6 separate regions of the Homo sapiens genome follow, and regions 1, 3, 4, 5 and 6 are each linked to region 2. The links are contacts of gene promoters, found by promoter capture Hi-C in blood cells and fetal thymus (Javierre and others, 2016). All regions are on one chromosome and are shown on one strand. The core of a region is centred on a gene start or on the middle of the fragment in contact, and the rest is flanking DNA. Distances in the headings are between cores, read along the strand shown. Region 1 overlaps ARK2N (arkadia (RNF111) N-terminal like PKA signaling regulator 2N). Region 2 holds the start of PIAS2 (protein inhibitor of activated STAT 2). Region 3 overlaps ARK2N (arkadia (RNF111) N-terminal like PKA signaling regulator 2N). Region 4 holds the start of HAUS1 (HAUS augmin like complex subunit 1). Region 5 holds the start of ARK2C (arkadia (RNF111) C-terminal like ring finger ubiquitin ligase 2C). Region 6 overlaps ARK2N (arkadia (RNF111) N-terminal like PKA signaling regulator 2N).

Evidence for each region. Contacts are between HindIII fragments. The CHiCAGO score rates a contact against its expected background, and 5 or more counts as called.
Region 1: a fragment that was not itself captured here is called in contact with the fragment with the promoter of PIAS2 in region 2 in 1 of 17 cell types (total B cells); the score reaches 7.0 in total B cells.
Region 3: a fragment that was not itself captured here is called in contact with the fragment with the promoter of PIAS2 in region 2 in 1 of 17 cell types (total B cells); the score reaches 6.1 in total B cells.
Region 4: the fragment with the promoter of HAUS1 here is called in contact with the fragment with the promoter of PIAS2 in region 2 in 13 of 17 cell types (non-activated CD4 T cells, total B cells, activated CD4 T cells and 10 more); the score reaches 15.5 in non-activated CD4 T cells.
Region 5: a contact is called between the fragment with the promoter of ARK2C here and the fragment with the promoter of PIAS2 in region 2, in 1 of 17 cell types (fetal thymus). The highest score is 7.2, in fetal thymus.
Region 6: a fragment that was not itself captured here is called in contact with the fragment with the promoter of PIAS2 in region 2 in 1 of 17 cell types (total B cells); the score reaches 5.2 in total B cells.

Annotation. Positions count from the first base shown.
Region 1 is chr18:46,264,383-46,267,082 of GRCh38, forward strand. ARK2N (arkadia (RNF111) N-terminal like PKA signaling regulator 2N) reads left to right here. Exons shown (of 5, transcript NM_145055.5): 5 at 1-2,610. Among named protein-coding and RNA genes, the nearest start is that of ARK2C, 68 kb to the right of the region's middle. The HindIII fragment of the contact is 6,556 bases long and covers 1-2,700 here.
Region 2 is chr18:46,916,169-46,918,868 of GRCh38, forward strand. PIAS2 (protein inhibitor of activated STAT 2) reads right to left here and starts at 1,339. Exons shown (of 14, transcript NM_004671.5): 1 at 1,154-1,339. The coding sequence starts at 1,177. It overlaps KATNAL2 (katanin catalytic subunit A1 like 2), which reads left to right and starts at 1,434. Exons shown (of 18, transcript NM_001387690.1): 1 at 1,434-1,758. RefSeq lists silencers at 709-788, 859-1,598 and an enhancer at 735-1,488. The HindIII fragment of the contact is 2,459 bases long and covers 1-2,023 here.
Region 3 is chr18:46,197,783-46,200,482 of GRCh38, forward strand. The region is part of intron 1 of ARK2N (arkadia (RNF111) N-terminal like PKA signaling regulator 2N); the gene reads left to right. Among named protein-coding and RNA genes, the nearest start is that of ARK2N, 25 kb to the left of the region's middle. The HindIII fragment of the contact is 1,587 bases long and covers 554-2,140 here.
Region 4 is chr18:46,103,053-46,105,752 of GRCh38, forward strand. HAUS1 (HAUS augmin like complex subunit 1) reads left to right here and starts at 1,333. Exons shown (of 9, transcript NM_138443.4): 1 at 1,333-1,389; 2 at 2,142-2,316. The coding sequence starts at 1,360. It also overlaps a transcript of ATP5F1A not described here. RefSeq lists a silencer at 1,158-1,257 and an enhancer at 1,648-1,737. The HindIII fragment of the contact is 1,925 bases long and covers 1-1,847 here.
Region 5 is chr18:46,332,584-46,335,283 of GRCh38, forward strand. ARK2C (arkadia (RNF111) C-terminal like ring finger ubiquitin ligase 2C) reads left to right here and starts at 1,435. Exons shown (of 8, transcript NM_152470.3): 1 at 1,435-1,752. The coding sequence starts at 1,692. RefSeq lists enhancers at 266-877, 878-1,488. The HindIII fragment of the contact is 2,733 bases long and covers 471-2,700 here.
Region 6 is chr18:46,216,875-46,219,574 of GRCh38, forward strand. The region is part of intron 2 of ARK2N (arkadia (RNF111) N-terminal like PKA signaling regulator 2N); the gene reads left to right. Among named protein-coding and RNA genes, the nearest start is that of ARK2N, 44 kb to the left of the region's middle. The HindIII fragment of the contact is 1,440 bases long and covers 678-2,117 here.

The sequences.
Region 1 (2,700 bases), core at 149-2,648, 650 kb before region 2:
TGCACAGGGGGAGTGAAGTAATATTGGCTTAGAAGACTTCACCTTTTGTTTTTCATGGTTTTTGTTTGTTTTGTTTTTGTTTTTGTTTCCATTGTTACCGTTGCTATGGCCCTTTGCCTGTCTCTCCAAATCCCCTGGTGGCTCTTCTTATCATTAAGAGTATGAGAATTACCATTTTCAGTTTTCATTCAGCAAACAAATTTACCAAGTGCCTGCTCTGCATAAGGCACTGTGAGGGGTGGGTGCTCTGGGGGCTGCTGAGATGAATGACACACACCGCACATACACATGCATCAGTGTCTGCCTGCCTCCACCTGCCCAGCCTGTTCTTCTTCTTCTTCTTCATCTTCTTCTTTTTTTTTTTTTTTTGTAAAGACAAGTTTATTCCTTTACGCTTCTTGTTGCATTAGTTCTCCTGTATGTTCCTTCTTCCACAGGAATGTATTTGTGCATATGTTCTTTGATCTTCTCTGATAGCATCTCATTTGATCTGGCCTCTGTCCTTCATCAGCTTTTATTTTTTTTATTTTTATTTTCTGCTTTTGTTAGATAAGGCTTTTAAGATCATGAACCTCCAGCTTTAGCAACTCATATATCAGTCTCTCACATGGCCACAATTCTAGACAAAAACCAAAGACCCAGAGGCCAGAGCAAAGTAGGACCTTCTGAAGATTCACTACTGGTGTATCCTTGGACCTTCACATTTTACTTTAGGATTAATTTATTGAATTTTACTGTTACACATAGTTTTTGACTTGAATTAAAATACTAGACAAAGCAGAAATGTACAATTTCTGGTCTGTGTTTTCCAGGAAATTCATAGAGAAGAGAATAGAGTGGATGATGTGACTTGAAGTTTTTGCAGCTTATTTTTTCCCCCACTGTCAGGGCAGAGGCCCATTTTAATGAATGTTTTTGCATGACCTGTTCTTATGTTAACCACATATTTTTTTTCCCAATTCCACACAGCAGGTGATTTCCCGTGTGACATATTTTCTTCATAGTCCCTAATATAGTCATCCTCTACAGAGTTGGCGTGCTGTGTGCACTGTGGATTAGGAACAGAGTGGAGCTGTAACCAGTCTCTTCTCTGGCCCTTTGCCTTTATGTCAGCTTGCACTTTTGCCTCACTTATTCCTAGTCCAGCTCCCAACTGCCTGACTTAATGGACCAGAACGGAGATTTGGATATTAAGATGCAGAGGGGGAGGGGAAGGGATGGTAGAGATAGACAGCTCTCCCCTACTAGGTTGGGTCATTTCCCCTAATAACTATAGAGAGACTGTGTTTCAACTCTCTTTTCATTGCTGTTTCCAGAAGAGTGGAGAGTGTGGTTTCAGGCAAGGTATTAATGATACAATTCCGTGGTATACAGCTCCTGTGACATTTGAAGTTTCTTTTAAAGGGGTTTTTCTTAATCAAAGTTTTACATTTGGTAGCATAAGTAGTTCTTTATGCTTCACAGGACATTGTCTTCAGAGTAATCTCTCTGCTAAAATGGTACATGTGGGTCACAGATTGGTTTATGCCACTGACTTGGTTAAGTTTCCACCCCCTCCAATTTGTGAAAAACAGAGCAGTGACCTAGCTGTTGCATCATCATGACTGCCATGTAACCTGTAATTGCTGCTCTCCAGTAATTGTCTTTTCATTTTGATGGTAGGGGCCAGACTGAATGAATAATGCATTCTTTTTTATTCAATTTATTTCATTCAGTTTATTCTTGGCAATCAAACATCCCATAAACTTTGCTTTTATTATCAATTATGAATATGAATTGTCTGGTTTACTAATGTAGTCATTTGTTCATCTTTACTTTTAGCAGATTAGCACCATAACTAACTTAAAACTAAGTTTGTTACCTGCTTTTTATACTGTCACAAAGGTTTTTGAAAAAGCTGGGGACACTATTTTGTCTTTTAGTTTTAAACTTTTTTAAGGCAAAGCAAGCTCCCCAATCCCTGTTCTCCAATATGTGTATGATGTGACTTCCATGTAGATATAAAAATGATTGTGCCCTAACCAAACTTCCTCAGATTGTGCACTGTTTGTTTAAAATAATCACGTATTTTAGTCTGATGCTGTTGTATTTTTTCATTTTATTTAAAACACTACTTACTTCTTATTCTCTTAACAAATTTTAAAAGGTAGTGATCTTAAAAAAAAATCACTGGATAACTAGGAAATATTTTTGTTGTTGTTTTGTTTCTTAAAGAGTACAGAGGCCATTGAAGCCTTTTGCTCCTCTTACCGTGAAAATGAAATGTTAGCCATTGTATGGCTAGGAACCAATGCACTTGGCAGTTAATGGATCTGCTGTTGCTGGAGTGTGAGCGTGGACTTGATGCAGTGATGACAAATCATTGCTTAGAATTAATGTTTTCAAATGTGCAACTCTAGTTTTTAAAACAAAATTTGGTTCTTTACATTCATTATTTCGTTTTTGTTTCCCTTTAGTATTTAATGGTCTTTGGAGAAAAAATAATAAAACAGAGTGTTATATATATATTTTTTGGTGCAAGATAAGATTTTCTGTTTTTTGAAATAAGTCTGTAGCATAAAGGTTAAACTATTTTAAGACAAAATAAAATAGAGTGTATTTAAACAATGATATCTTCTGAGGTTTTTTTTTTTTTTTCTTTGTCCCTATCTGCTTCAGTTAATTAGGTGGTACCTGGAGCAATTTCCAAGTTACCTTTTA
Region 2 (2,700 bases), core at 89-2,588:
ATCTCCGTTTAGAGCAGAGGATACGTTCTTTTGCTCACGTCCACTAAGCAGGTAACCAGCCAACATCCTTCCCCCATCCCATCTCTTGCGGAAAACAATAAATATACAAAACTGAACCTTTTACCGGATTCCTCTTCCTTATTTGAAAAAGAAATCCTAATATCATAAGTGTTACACAAACGAGTTGCAGTAAATGTAATTTCAAGTTTACACTCATCTCTACCTTGATACATTTAAAAAAAAAAAAAATCAGGGTTTCTGTCCGTAAACATCTCATTTATGTCGCCAGTAATTCAGCGATACACACAAATCCATCTCATTCGTCACACTTAGTTAGGACTTTAAAGGTTATCAGTCTGGGGGGAAAAAGTCTCTTCTGTTCTACCCCCATCACAGCCCTATTCCAGACCTCTGCTATACAAGGGTATCAACAATAAAGTTATGATCTTGTTTTAAGACTGAGAAGAAAAAAATATTTTTCCTCAAGAGTAAAAGGGGTGCACAAACCTCACAACATAGACTTTGCAGATTTCTTACTAAAACACTAAGAAAATATCGAGGTTTAAGGCCGATTATTGAAGGCAGGGATCCCCAAACATTAGGTTCCTCGAAGATGTTAGGAGGCAAGGGTGGGAGAAGGGGCCTTTTCTCGTGACAGACCTGACTAAACGGTAGCATCAGCCATAAGAAGAGGAGAGATTCCTAAACGCAACTTCAGCTTTCAGAAAACAGTCCTCCACCAAGTGAGTAGCATGCAGACTTGTGAATAGCCACAGACACGTACACCCCGGTGAAGGTGCAAGATCAAACGTTGCTTCCCACATCGGCCCTCACTGCGAACCGGGATGTCGGGTCCCCATGTGCCCCTCCTGGAGGGCGCCCCGACCCCCCGCGCCAGGTGTGCGGACCACTGGCAGCACTCAGGAGCCGGCTCGCCGCGGCCCAGGCCCGCCGCCCCCGCGCCGCCCGCGTGCCCTCCGCCGGCCCGCTCCCCTCCCCCGCGCCCTCGGCGCCCGTTCGTCCGCGGGCCGGGGCTCAGGGCTCCGCCAACCGGCCCCAGAGGCACGAGCAGGCGGCGGCCGGCGACGTTGCGGTTTCCCCACCTCCTCTCCCATCCCCTCCCCCGCGGCCTCCGCTCTCCACTCCCGCTTACCCTCAACTCTTCGAAATCCGCCATTTTATACCACCCGCGGGCGCCGCCGCCGCTGCCGCCGCACCCACTCCCGCTGCCGCCAACGACGCTGCCGCCACCACGGCCGCCGCCGCCTCCAGCACCATCCTGCACTGGGCGCCGCTTAAGACGCCGCGGCCGCCGCCGCTACAGCCGGGCCCGTCACGTGAACGGCGCGGGAGCTCCGCCTCCGACGCGCCGAAGCCCCGCCCCTAGCGGTGCCCCCTGCCCACCCGCGCGACCGCCTTCCGCCCGCGCCTTCAGTCCGCGCGGCGACAGCGCCCGCCCGCGCCTGCCCCGGCGTGCTGCCCCGCGGCTTGGCCCCGCTCGGCCCCAGGTCGTGCCTTCCCTCCCCGGCGGAGGCCCCTGCGGACTGCCTAGAGCTGGGTCGCAACTGAGGCGTTATCCGCGGGCCTGGCCTCGGGAAGTGGCGGGGAGGAAGAAGAGGCGGCCGGGACGCGTGACAGGAGCATTCGGGAAGATTCTTACGGTGCCCTTCACGCGGTGCCTATGGACGGAGAAAGCCGCCGCAAATAAAACCATCCCCCAGAGTAGTTGTGGCGGAATAATCTAAATATGGGTGTTGGGTAAGCTATTGTTCCCATCTAATGGTGAGGTTGTGTGACACCTCTTTGAATTGCTAATGTCCTGCAAGTACCAACCTTGCCGAGTTTTTCTGACCTTGAAGGGCACCTGAAGGTCACGGACTGCAGAGTTGGGAGAGTTAGGCGGTGGGGTTGGGGGCGGGGAGAAGTGAAATAAGAGCGCTCAGAAGGGCCATGCTAAAAAGTCGGGGAAATCTGATAGCTAGGAAGGAGTCAAACGCCAAGGCAGAGTAAGTAGATAGAAGGAAGCTTGATGGCCCCCCCGTAATGTGCTGATATAGGATGAAGGAAGATGCTGAGTCAAGATGGCCAGAAAAATCGCTGGACGGTGTCCAGGGTTCAATTTCCTTGAAGAATTGGGTGGAACCCACACACGAGAGGTCTTTAAAACAATGTAACTTTTAAGGCCCTGTTTAATCAGCCTCCTACCTACCGCCTCTTCCCACTACCCCTCGTTTCATCCGCACTGCACTTCCAGGTCTTCCTTCCACTCCCCTGCCCCCGCACCCCGCAAGTTTTGTTTTTTTGAGACGGAGTTTTGCTCTTGTTGCCCAGGCTGGAGTGCAATGGCACGATCTCGGCTCACCGCAATGTCTGCCTCCCGGGTTCAAGCGATTCTCCTACCTCCGCCTCCCGAGTAGCTGCGATTGTATTTTTGGTAGAAACGAGGTTTCTCCAAGTTGGTCAGGCTGGTCTCCAACTCCGGACCTCAGGTGATCCGCCCGCCTCGGCCTCCCAAAGTACTGAGATTACAGGCGTGAGCCACTGCACCCGGCCTCCCCTCAAGTTTTAAGGCTTCTAAATGTTGATCCTTGAACCAAGAATAATTTCCCACTCTCTTCTTTGTTCCTAACTCCTGTTCATCCTTCAGGTTTCACTTTAAGTGTCACTTCCTCAGGAAGACCATCCCTCACCCACATCCCA
Region 3 (2,700 bases), core at 97-2,596, 720 kb before region 2:
AATAGCATTTCTGAAATCCAGGAGGACGTGTGTTGGTAGTTCCTTGATTAGGACTTATGATTCTGCATGATGTACTTTCACCTCTTTTATATTTTCCATCTCATATTTTTTGTATGCCGTTATGGGTATTTTCTTCAAATCTGTCTTTTAGTTTGCTAGTTTTCTTTTTAGCTGTGTGTAATCTGTTACTTAACCTGCCCAGTTTTTCCTACGATATTTCCATTTTTGAAAATTGTGGGCCAGGTGTGGTGGCTCACGCCTATAATCCCAGCACTGTGGGAGGCTGAGGTGGCTGGATCACTTGAGGTCGGGAGTTCAAAACCGGCCTCACCAACATGGTGAAACACTGTCTCTACTAAAAATACAAAAGTTAGCCGGGTATGGTGGTGGCGCCTGTAGTCCCAGCTACCTGGGAAGCTGAGGCACGAGAATCACAGAATCACTTGAACCCGGGAGGTGGAGGTTGCAGTGAGCCGAGATCGCCCCCACTGCACTCCAGTATGGATGACTGAACCAGACTCCATCTCCAAAAAAAAAAAAAAAAAAAAAAAGAAGCTTGACTCTTTTTTAAATTTAATTTTTAATAGTTACATTGTAATGCAGTTTTGAAAGATTTTTACATTGGTCCATAAAACGAAGAACTATGAGACAATATTATAAAAAGTTCATTCTCCCATTTTGATTCTCTACCTTTCACCTTCCTACTTTTCACAAGTAAGAATTACTAATTTCTTGTTTCCTTATAGATTTTTAAAATACGCAAATGTAGGTAGATTTTCTTCCCTCATGTTTTATACAAATACCATATTGTACCCACTTGTCTTTTTTCTTTTTTGAGATGGAGTTTTGGTCTGTTGTCCAGGCTGGAGTGCAGTGGTGCATCTCGGCTCACTGCAACCTCCACCTCCCGGGTTCAAGTGATTCTCCTGCCTCAGCCTCCCAAGTAGCTGGGACTACAGGCGTGCACCATCACACCTGGCTAATTTTTGTATTTTAAGTAGAGATGGGGTTTCACTATGTTGGCCAGGTTGGTCTCGAACTCCTGACCTTGTGATCCACCTGCCTCGGCCTCCCAAAGTGCTGGGATTACGGATGTGAGCCACTGTGCCCAGCCTTTTTCCTTCTTAAAAATGGACCCTGGAGATCATTTCTAATATAGAAAAGAGTTCCTCATTCATAGTCCTTTTGTAGCTTAGTTTTGTCATGATAATCATAAACCTACATCTATAGTCCAGCTAGAATTGGAAGATGAGATGGGAAATATGGAACCCATAGAATTACAGCAAATGAGCACGCAAAGATTATGGATTTTAAAGCAGTCTGGGAGTAAATGAGATAAAACAAAATTAAATTTGAAACTTGCCCTCAGTCAATATTTAAGACCTTCTTGCTTGTTTTGCACCTCTATCTTAACTTTCACAGTATTCATGCCATCTTTTACCTTTCCATGGTGGGCTTATATGTTATTTCAGGCTGAACTACATTTCCTAGAAACTCCTTTCCTGTATCTTTCTTTTTAATTTTTAAAAATTATTTTATTTTATTTTTTTGAGATGGAATCTCTCGCTGTTGCCCAGGCTGGAGTGCAGTGGAGTGATCTCGGCTCAGTGCAACCTCTGTCTCCTGGCTTCAAGCGATTCTTCCTGCCTCAGTCTCCTGAGTAGCTGGAACTACAAGTGTGTGCCACCACACCCAGCTCATTTTTTTTTTTTTTTTTTTTTTTTAGTAGAGGTGGGGTTTCACCATGTTGGCCAGGCTGGTCTTGAACTCCTGACCTCAAGTGATCCACCCGCCTCAGCCTCCCAAAATGCTGTGATTACACTTTCCTGTGTCTTTCTTGTAAGGTTGGGCACAAGAGAGATTACTGTAGGAGATTTGGAGAGTGGCCATTTTGTTGTTTACATACATTGTTGCTTATCTGTTGAGTCACCTCACTTCTTTGTAGTGAAGCAGCTTATGGGACTGCAACTGTTTAACTCTCCCCTAGATCTCCTTCCCAATCTTCTTCAGCTCTGCTGACTCCTGGGCCAGGTATATGTTTAGCTGTTTGACAAAGAGGTTTGGTTCTATAGGACATCTATACCATCAAGGTTAGAGGCAACAAGAACTAATACAGAGTTCAGTTTGTCCTGTGGACTTAAGCTTGTGTGTGTGATTTCTAGCTCGTTGTTTCTTGCTCTCTCCTACTTGTTCTCTGCCACATCCATCTTTCTGTCTCACCTGCGGCCCTGTGGATTTTAAGCGCCAGCATCAGATGCAGATAGCCTTACAGAAAATTCTTTATTGTGTGTGTGTGTGTGTGTGTGTGTGCGCGCGCGTGCTGGGGGCAGAGGGTGTATTTTTAAGACCTGGTGGTTCTGTTTCTCTGACCAAACCTGAATTATTCATTTTTCCGAAAGACCACATTTGCTATCTATCTAATCAATCAATTTTATCAGTTTATGGAAACTGGGAGTCATTTATACTGAGTTCAGGATTTGCCAGGGACAAGATGTCAGATGTCACAGGTTACAGTTTTTTTGTTTGTTCGTTTGTTTTTTTTTAAGACAGAGTCTTGCTCTGTCACCCAGGCTGGAGCGCAGTGGCGCAATCTTGGCTCACTGCAACCTCTGCCTTCCGGGTTCAAGCGATTCTCCTGCCTCAGCCTCCTCAGTAGCTGGGATTACAGGCACGTGCCACCACGCCCAGCTAATTTTTGTG
Region 4 (2,700 bases), core at 83-2,582, 810 kb before region 2:
GCTCTTTGAGAGGCCGAGGCAGGCAGATCACTTGAGGTCAGGAGTTTGAGACCAGCCTGATCAACGTGGTGAAACCCCCCGTTCTACTAAAAATAAAAAAATTATCCCTGCATGCTAGCACAAGCCTGTAATCCCAGCTACTAGAGAGGATGAGACAGGAGAATTGCTTGAGCCTGGGGACGGGGGTTGGAGGTCGCAGTGAGCCAAGATCATGTCACTCTGCACTCCAGCCTAAGCGACAGAGAAACACTCCATCTCAAAAAGAAAAGAAAAGGTCGGGCGCAGTGCCTGTAATCCCAGCACTTTGGGAGGCCAAGGCGGGCGGATCACCTGAAGTCAGGAGTTCGAGACCAAGCTGGCCAACCTGATGAGATCCCATCTTTACTAAGATACAAAAAATTAGCTGGGCGTGGTGATGCACACCTGTAATCCCAGCTACTCGGAAGGCTGAGGCAGGAGAATCGCTTGAACCCGGGAAGCAGAGGTGGCAGTGAGCTGAGAGCCGAGAGCCGAGATCGTGCCACTGCCCTCCAGCCTGAACAACAGAGACTCCATCTCAAAAAAAAAAAAAAAAAAAAAAAAGCTGGGCGCGCTGGCTCACGCCTGTAATCCCAGCACTTTGGGAGGCCGAGGTGGGCGGATCATGAGGTTAGGAGTTCGAGACCAGCCTGGCCAATATGGTGAAACCCCGTCTCTACTAAAAACACAAAAATTAGCCAGGCGTGGTGGCGCTTGCCCGTAGTCCCAGCTACTTGGGAGGCTGAGACAGAAGAATCGCTTGAACCCAGGAGGCAGAGGTTGCAGTGAGCCGAGATCATGCCACTGCACTCCAGCCTGGGCGACAAAGCGAGACTCTGTCTCAAAAAAAAAAAATGTCCCTAGTTTTTAGGTTGGGGGAACTAACGGATCAAGTTAAGATTGCCTCAGCTCATATTGCCAGGGTAGAATATAAATTCTGAGTGGATGCAATCAATGTGGAAGAAACACAAACATCTTGCTAAGCAAGAACCAAACGTTTCAAGTACTTTTTTTTAACGACAAGTGATTCAAACAAGAAATAAAAATAAAAGAAAGAAAAAACAACCTGGTTCTAGGCGGCTCTATCTCTCGTAGTGTTGATTATACCGCGGAAGGCGGGAAGAGCTGGGAAGTGGCAACGAAGCGAGGCTTGCAATGCCAGAGCCTTCGACCAGCCTTGCACAGGGGCTCAACGGCCAGGAGTCTCAGGTAAAACCACAACTCCCAGAAATCCCGGGCCCGGCGAGGGGCGGGTGCCAACGGCGTGTGGGCGGGGCCTAGGGAGTGAGCGGGGCGCATCTCCCGCTAGGAGTTCCTAGTAAAGTGGCGGGAGCCGCAGCTATGGAGCCGCAGGAGGAGAGAGAAACGCAGGTGATGGGGCGGGAATGGGGATCGTTGGCCTCCTGGAAAACGCGTTTTTGACACCCCCGCGCCGACAGCGGGTCTCCTGTGCGCGCCACGTCTACTTTTCTCTCCCCTATTCCACACATCCGTCTTTTAGTGCCGCCGTCACTATCTGCAAGCCCCCCGTGCTTAGACTCTCCTGAAGGCCTTTCCCTTCCTGCCCGGGCCTCCCCTTGTTTGGATCTGGCCCGGGAGAGGCGTTGAGCAGCCCGTGTCCACAGACTCTGGAGTGGGACTTATGAAGCCAAACCCGCCTTCCGGTTCGCTGCTCAGCCCGGCGGCTTCCACATCTGAACTGCTTCCGCGCCCTGCATCCCAACACTGGGAGCCTCCCGGCGCGGCGGGGCTTCTGGTGATCGAGGGACAATTGCTTTTTTCAGACCATGCACGGTCTAATAATGCGTTCGCATTATTATGGTCTATTAAGCTTTAAGGTTTTTCAAGCGAGGCAAATTGTTAGCCTGTACCGCTTTTGCAGATTTGGAAAAGAACGGATTGTTCTCTGGTAATTTTCAGTATTGTACGTTTCTTTGTGTACTTGCTCACTTTTTATTTCCTGATATCTAGTATCTCCCTAAAGACAAGTGAGGTTGTGAAGTAGGACTCCAAAATAGTCACAGAAAGCATTTAGTTTGCTTTTGATCACTTCTTTGTCATATTCTCATCGAGCCATTACAGTAAACAAGGCTTATAATATTTGTCTTTCTTTTAATGGTTAGGTTGCTGCGTGGTTAAAAAAAATATTTGGAGATCATCCTATTCCACAGTATGAGGTGAACCCACGGACCACAGAGATTTTACATCACCTTTCAGAACGCAACAGGGTCCGGGACAGGGATGTCTACCTGGTAATAGAGGACTTGAAGCAGAAAGCAAGTGAATACGAGTCAGAAGGTGAGATTAAGTCCAGAGTTTTGAACGAGAATAAATAGAGGTAACCAAATTTTATAACACTAAAGTATACAGGATTAATTTACTGTAGACTACTTGTTTTGCTCCTTTATTTTTCCCAGATTTTCTTCCACTCTGTTATAGTAGTAACTTTATTGTTTTATGTTTATATATATGTATATGTATGTGTGTGTGTGTGTGTGTGTGTGTGTGTGTGTGTGTGTGTGTATATATTTTAGACAATCTTGCTCTGTCGCCCAGGCTGGAGTGCAGTGGTGTGATCTCAGCTCACTGCAACCTCCATCTCCTGGGTTCAAGTGATTCTCATGCCTCAGCCTCCCAAGTAGCTGGGACTACAGGCCTGCACCACCACACCCGGCTAATTTT
Region 5 (2,700 bases), core at 185-2,684, 580 kb before region 2:
TTGCCCAGCTTCCCGTGCTGCCCATTTCTGCATGGAACAAGCTCTATGGTGATTGCCCGTTGGCATCTCTGAGGCCCTCTCTGGCCTCCAAGAATTGGGATCTTGGGCAGATCGGGATCACCTCCCTATGCCCTTGCTCAACACAGCATGGATTAAATGAATGACCCTCCTTTTCCAAGGTGAGGGCAGGTTGGGGTTGGATTAGATTCTTTCCAGCTCCACATACTGTGATTTTTACCATCTCCTATTTATCAGACTCATTAAAGAAAGAAACCACTGGGCTTTGAAGACAAGTCCCAATGTAGGGAATGTCCTCTGTCTTTCTGCCCGTGGGTGGGCCCCTGAAGCATTCTCTGGCCTTAGTGTGTGAACTGTGAGCCTGATTGTAGGCGTAGGGTTGCCTTGGGAGTTTTCACAGAAGGTCAGCTGAGCATGCAAGAACACCGCCTCAGTCGTCCTCCTGGCAACAAAGCTTGCGGTGAAGGCTCTTTGATTGGGTCTTGCTTGTCCCCAGCTGGACTGTCACAGGGCACATGTGACACGGTGGCTGCGCCTCCACGTGTGAATTTGCAGGAGCCTCAGAGCCTGATGTTACATATCCGCCTGCTGGCTGTGGAAGTGGGCGTGTCTGTGCACATGGCTGGGTGTACCTGTCTCAGATCAGGGCAAAAGGTAGATGAGTGGCCCTGGGTTTTCTGGGCAGTGTGTCTCTGTGTAGACTGTTGGCAAAGACCTCAGTGAATGAGTGAATTTCAATTCAGCAAATAATTATTGTGAGCTTTGTGCTCTCCAAGAGCAACGACGCGGTGCGCCAGGCAGAGAGCCTGGGGAGTGTGCGTGTCTTACCTGTGTCTGCATCGTGTGTTCCCTCTGTGTGTCTCTGAGAATGCGTTCTTGGCACGCGTCCTGCGTTAACAAGGCGTTTGGTGTGTGCATGTCTGTGTGACAGTGCCTGGGTCCTGTTTGCGGCTGCTTGTTCGCATTCCAGCTTCCCTTGTGCCCGCAGTCAGGCTCTACACGTGCGCCAGCCTCCGAGCGCACGTCCCCGAGTGACCCGTGCGCGGTGTGCAGGGACCTCAGGGTCGTGTGCACTAAGGGCGCTCGTGCCCGTCTCTCTGCACTAAGGAACGCACCTCCACATGTCTGAGTGCACGTCCCTCTCCATGTGTGCACGTTCCGTGTTCACGCCGCCCATGTCTGTGCAGGGGCGCTTCACGCGCGCCCTCTCCGGCCCGCGGGCGGCCAGGGACCCGCGCTGGGCTCCACGCTTCCCGTGGGGCTGACCCCTCCCTCGCGCCCCGCAGCGGGCCGCAGCGATTGGCCGCCGGCCCCCTTCCAGCCGTCACCCCTCCCTCCCTCCGCCACCCGCGCGCCCGCGGTCCCCGCTGTCCCCCGCGGTTCCGGCGAGGCCGCGCCGCGCTGCGCTCCGCTCCCATTGGCTGCGCGCGCCTTTGTGTGGCGGCAGCTGCGGCCCCAGCGCCTTTGAATGTCGAGAGGGGCCGGGAAGGGAGCCTTTCCATGGGCCATCTGTCTCCCCGCCAGCCGCCGCCCCACCGCCGCCCGCGCCCCGCGCTCCGCCTCCCGCCCCGGCGGCTCCCGCAGCCCCGCCGCCGCCCGCGCCCGCGCCCCGGAGCCGCGCCACAAAGGGCCCGCGCGCAGCCGCCGCCGCCGCCGCCGCGCGAGGAGCCAGGATGGTCCTGGTCCACGTCGGCTATCTCGTGCTTCCAGTGTTTGGCTCTGTGCGAAACAGAGGTATCGCTTTTTCCTTTCGGGGTCTGCTTCGGAGCGTGGATCGCCGCAGGCACCGGGGCGGGGGCGGGCGCCGCGGGCGGCCGGGGGCTCAGGGCACACCCGCGAGGACGCAGGGCGAGCGGTGGCTTCCCCCCACCCCATTTTAGGGGGACCCCCGAGGGTGGGGGCGGCCGCCCTCGTGGGAGCTTTTGTAGTGAAGTTAGGGTTTGGCGAATTTGGGTCCCTTCCTCCCCAGCCCCATTTTTTATTTTTTGCGGCGGACGTGGTTCCCCCAAATCACAGCCCCTTCCCCTAATACCTAGCCCTGTATGATCGAAAGGAGAAAGATACATGACCGTGTGTGTGTGTGTGTGTGTGTGTGTGTGTGTGTGTGTGTGTGTGAGAGAGAGAGAGAGCGCGCGCGCGAGAGCATGCTTGGTTTTCTGTGGTTTGCTTTTTTTGAGGTATATGTGTGTTTTGTGTTATGTGTGTTTTGTATTCATTTTTTGTTCATTAGTACCGATGGCTGGCTAGCTGGGACCTGGGTCTCTGCCCTATCCCATGCCCCAGCCCCCACCCTCTCGTGGGCACTTGCACGATTTTCCATCCCATCCTTTTTTCGTCTTTAACCCTTTTTGTGCATCGCCCTTGTGCTATTGCCCTGCTCACCCCGCCCCCCGCAACTGTCTTTGTATGACAGTTGCATACACGGGTTCAAGATGCTTGGGCGCGTGTGTGTGTGTGTGTGTGTGTCTGTATGTGTGTGTGCATGTGTGCGAGTGTGCGCGCGCGCCTCGGAGAGTCAGACCTGCGCTGCTGTGCCCTCCTTGGGTCCGGCTGGAGCGGGGCGTCCGGCCCTTGGGTGTTGTGCTGTGTGTGAGGATGAGGTGGGAAGCTGCCCCCACGCCAGGCCTTTGCCCCGGGCAGCGGTTGACAAAGCAGCGGGCCGGCGCGGGCTTTGTTTTTAAC
Region 6 (2,700 bases), core at 148-2,647, 700 kb before region 2:
TTACCTGAACTCCCAATCATTGCCTTTTTGGCACTGCTTAGATTTAATACTCACTGTTCGGCATCATTACTGAGTACATTCTCCTCAGGAATAGGCACCTTGCTTTATTATATAGCCACTGCACTTGAGCTTATAGTGTCTGAAATAACACATTCTATCTTTTGTTAAAGTTTTCTAATAATTTTTCCTCCAAAAACAGTAGTTTTATGTGTTTCCCCCATATTCAATGCATGAGAAGCTAGTTATCCTTGTTACAAATCTTTCTATCCTCACGTTGAAAAGAATGTCTTTCTGAAAAATTTCCCATTAGTTCCCCAAGTTTTAAAAAAGTTTGTTAGAAATCCGCTTGTTCTAGCTCTCATTGGTATAAGGGTCTGTAACTTATTACATATTTGGTAAATCTGCTTTCCCCATTCTTATTGCATCTGGTACTGTGTACTATAATACAAAGGCAGTCTTGAGATTTCATAGTGGAAGAAAGATGTATCTGAATGGTTCTTAAGTAGTGAATTCTTATTATCCAAGAGATCCTTACAATATGATCAGGAACATTTTGTAAACTGTATGGCATTGAATAGGTCATGGCAGTATTGTTTATTGCCACATTGAAGAGGGGCAAGTTTGGGTTTTCTAAAGTTTTATGGGTGACTATGTTTTTTCTCTCCCTGTTTTCTGAAAGCTTTCTGTTTCTACATGTGAAGACAGCATATTGCTGATATACAAAGAACATTTCAAGAGAAATCATATTGGTTAATGGAATCTATAGCTTCCCAAACTTATATAAATTCAGTAACAAGAATGATTGGTTTTAAAGCACTTTATAGGTGTTCAAGTTCTGATAATAAGTCTTGTCCATATAATATAAATATGAGTCTCAAACGATCTTTAGAAATGCTTTTTACTGTTTTAATATCTCTATTGGATTCCTTTGCTATTGTTCCTTGTAATAAAACTACCGGGAGGGGGATTTCAATGAAGCTCATCAGTTAAATGTATGAGAGAAACAGACTTTGGGGTTGTTCTAAGGCAGGTTTTAGGTATATATTTTAGTTTTACATGTATTAATATTTTTAAAAAAACCTTATTAATACCTGTAAAATTGTGCATTCCTATATCCTCTTCTAACCTCTTAATCAAGACCTTGATGGAACTCTTAATACAATACTTACTTCCACTTACTAAGCAGGATTTTATGTAACTACCCCAATACTTTGCCTTTTTGTGGAAAGGAAGAAGGTGGGTAAACAAAATTTAAAGTCAGAACCCTATTGTAAGGTGGCTTGAGAAATGTCTTCATAGGCACTTTCCCTGTTTTGCTTAAATAGGTTAGATGTGCTTTGTTCATATTTTCCTAATCTTCTTTCTAATTGAGTATCTTGACCACTGCTTAAAACTTAAAACACCAGTGTCTGTTTCTTGTCTCTTCTGAATTGTGTACTAACTGAACACCAAAGTAAATTAATTTGAATCTATAGTTTGGTTTCTATTGTTCACACCATTTAGTAACTTTGTGGCTTTTGAAAATACACATAGTTTTCTAAGGTAATCCTGGAGAATCAAATGGTAGATTGAGGTACAGGGTCACTGTATGTGACTGCCTGTGTGTGTGCTGGCAGTTTTGGGAGGTCTTATGGTATACCTGCCATTCCCATAAGACAGGTATGAATGATCTTTACTGGAATTATGCAAAGCAGCAAAAATGGAACAACTTAGAGTTCAAATATTAGGAATTTCATTTCAATTGTCCATATTGTTGTCTCTTGAAAAATTGTGACATTGTGAATTTTTAATGTAACAGTGATGTATCTTTCAGTTTACTGAGTCACCTTATGACTTTGGGGAAGAGAGGAGGCACGTTCAACCTTATAGTAAGAGCAGTTGTCGAAAAGTTGCCTAAATTGTAAAGGTAGGATAAATTATGAACTGACTTGAGTTCAACAACATGGACATTCAGGTGAACTTAAGCTGGATGGGCCTAACAGAATCTCTTGGATGTCGGAATGTTAATTCAGCTGTTTACACAGAATGGAAACCAAGTGGAAAAGTAAAAACCGATTATTGCCATACTCTTTCATTAAGGTACAACCAATTTAGTAATTCAGAAAATGCTCTTTATAAGCTTTTGTTTGGGCTCAGCTTAAAAGTTGAAGGCATTATCCTAAATAATTCCTGTTAGGATATCCTAATACCTTAATCCTAAATGTTATGCCAAATAATTGTAACTGTTAATGCATATTCTTTTAGAGAGTGCAAATAATTAATAATGCAGACCAGTGTAGTGCATGATCATACTTTAATTGAGTTTGATATCTGGGCAACAGATGTTTATGACGATTTTTTAAAGTTAGCAGTTAACTGACAGGCAGCTTAGTATCGGCACTAGATCATCTCTCTTTGAAGTTTTTGGAAATATATTGATGTTTTAAGAATCTGTTTGGAGGTATCATATCAAAATAATGCTGGCAGTACTTTCATTTGGCAGACTTAGAGTTGAGTAAAGGGCATTTTATAGTAAATTTATAATATTTTATAGTGAATTCATGTAAAAGTACTATGTGATGGTTATCTTGAGTATCAAGGCTTTTTATCAAGTGATTTCTTTTTTTTTTTTTTTGAGACCGAGTCTTGCTCTGTCACCAGGCTGGAGTGCAGTGGCGCGATCTCTGCTCACTGCAACCTCCGCCTCCCAGGTTCAAGCGA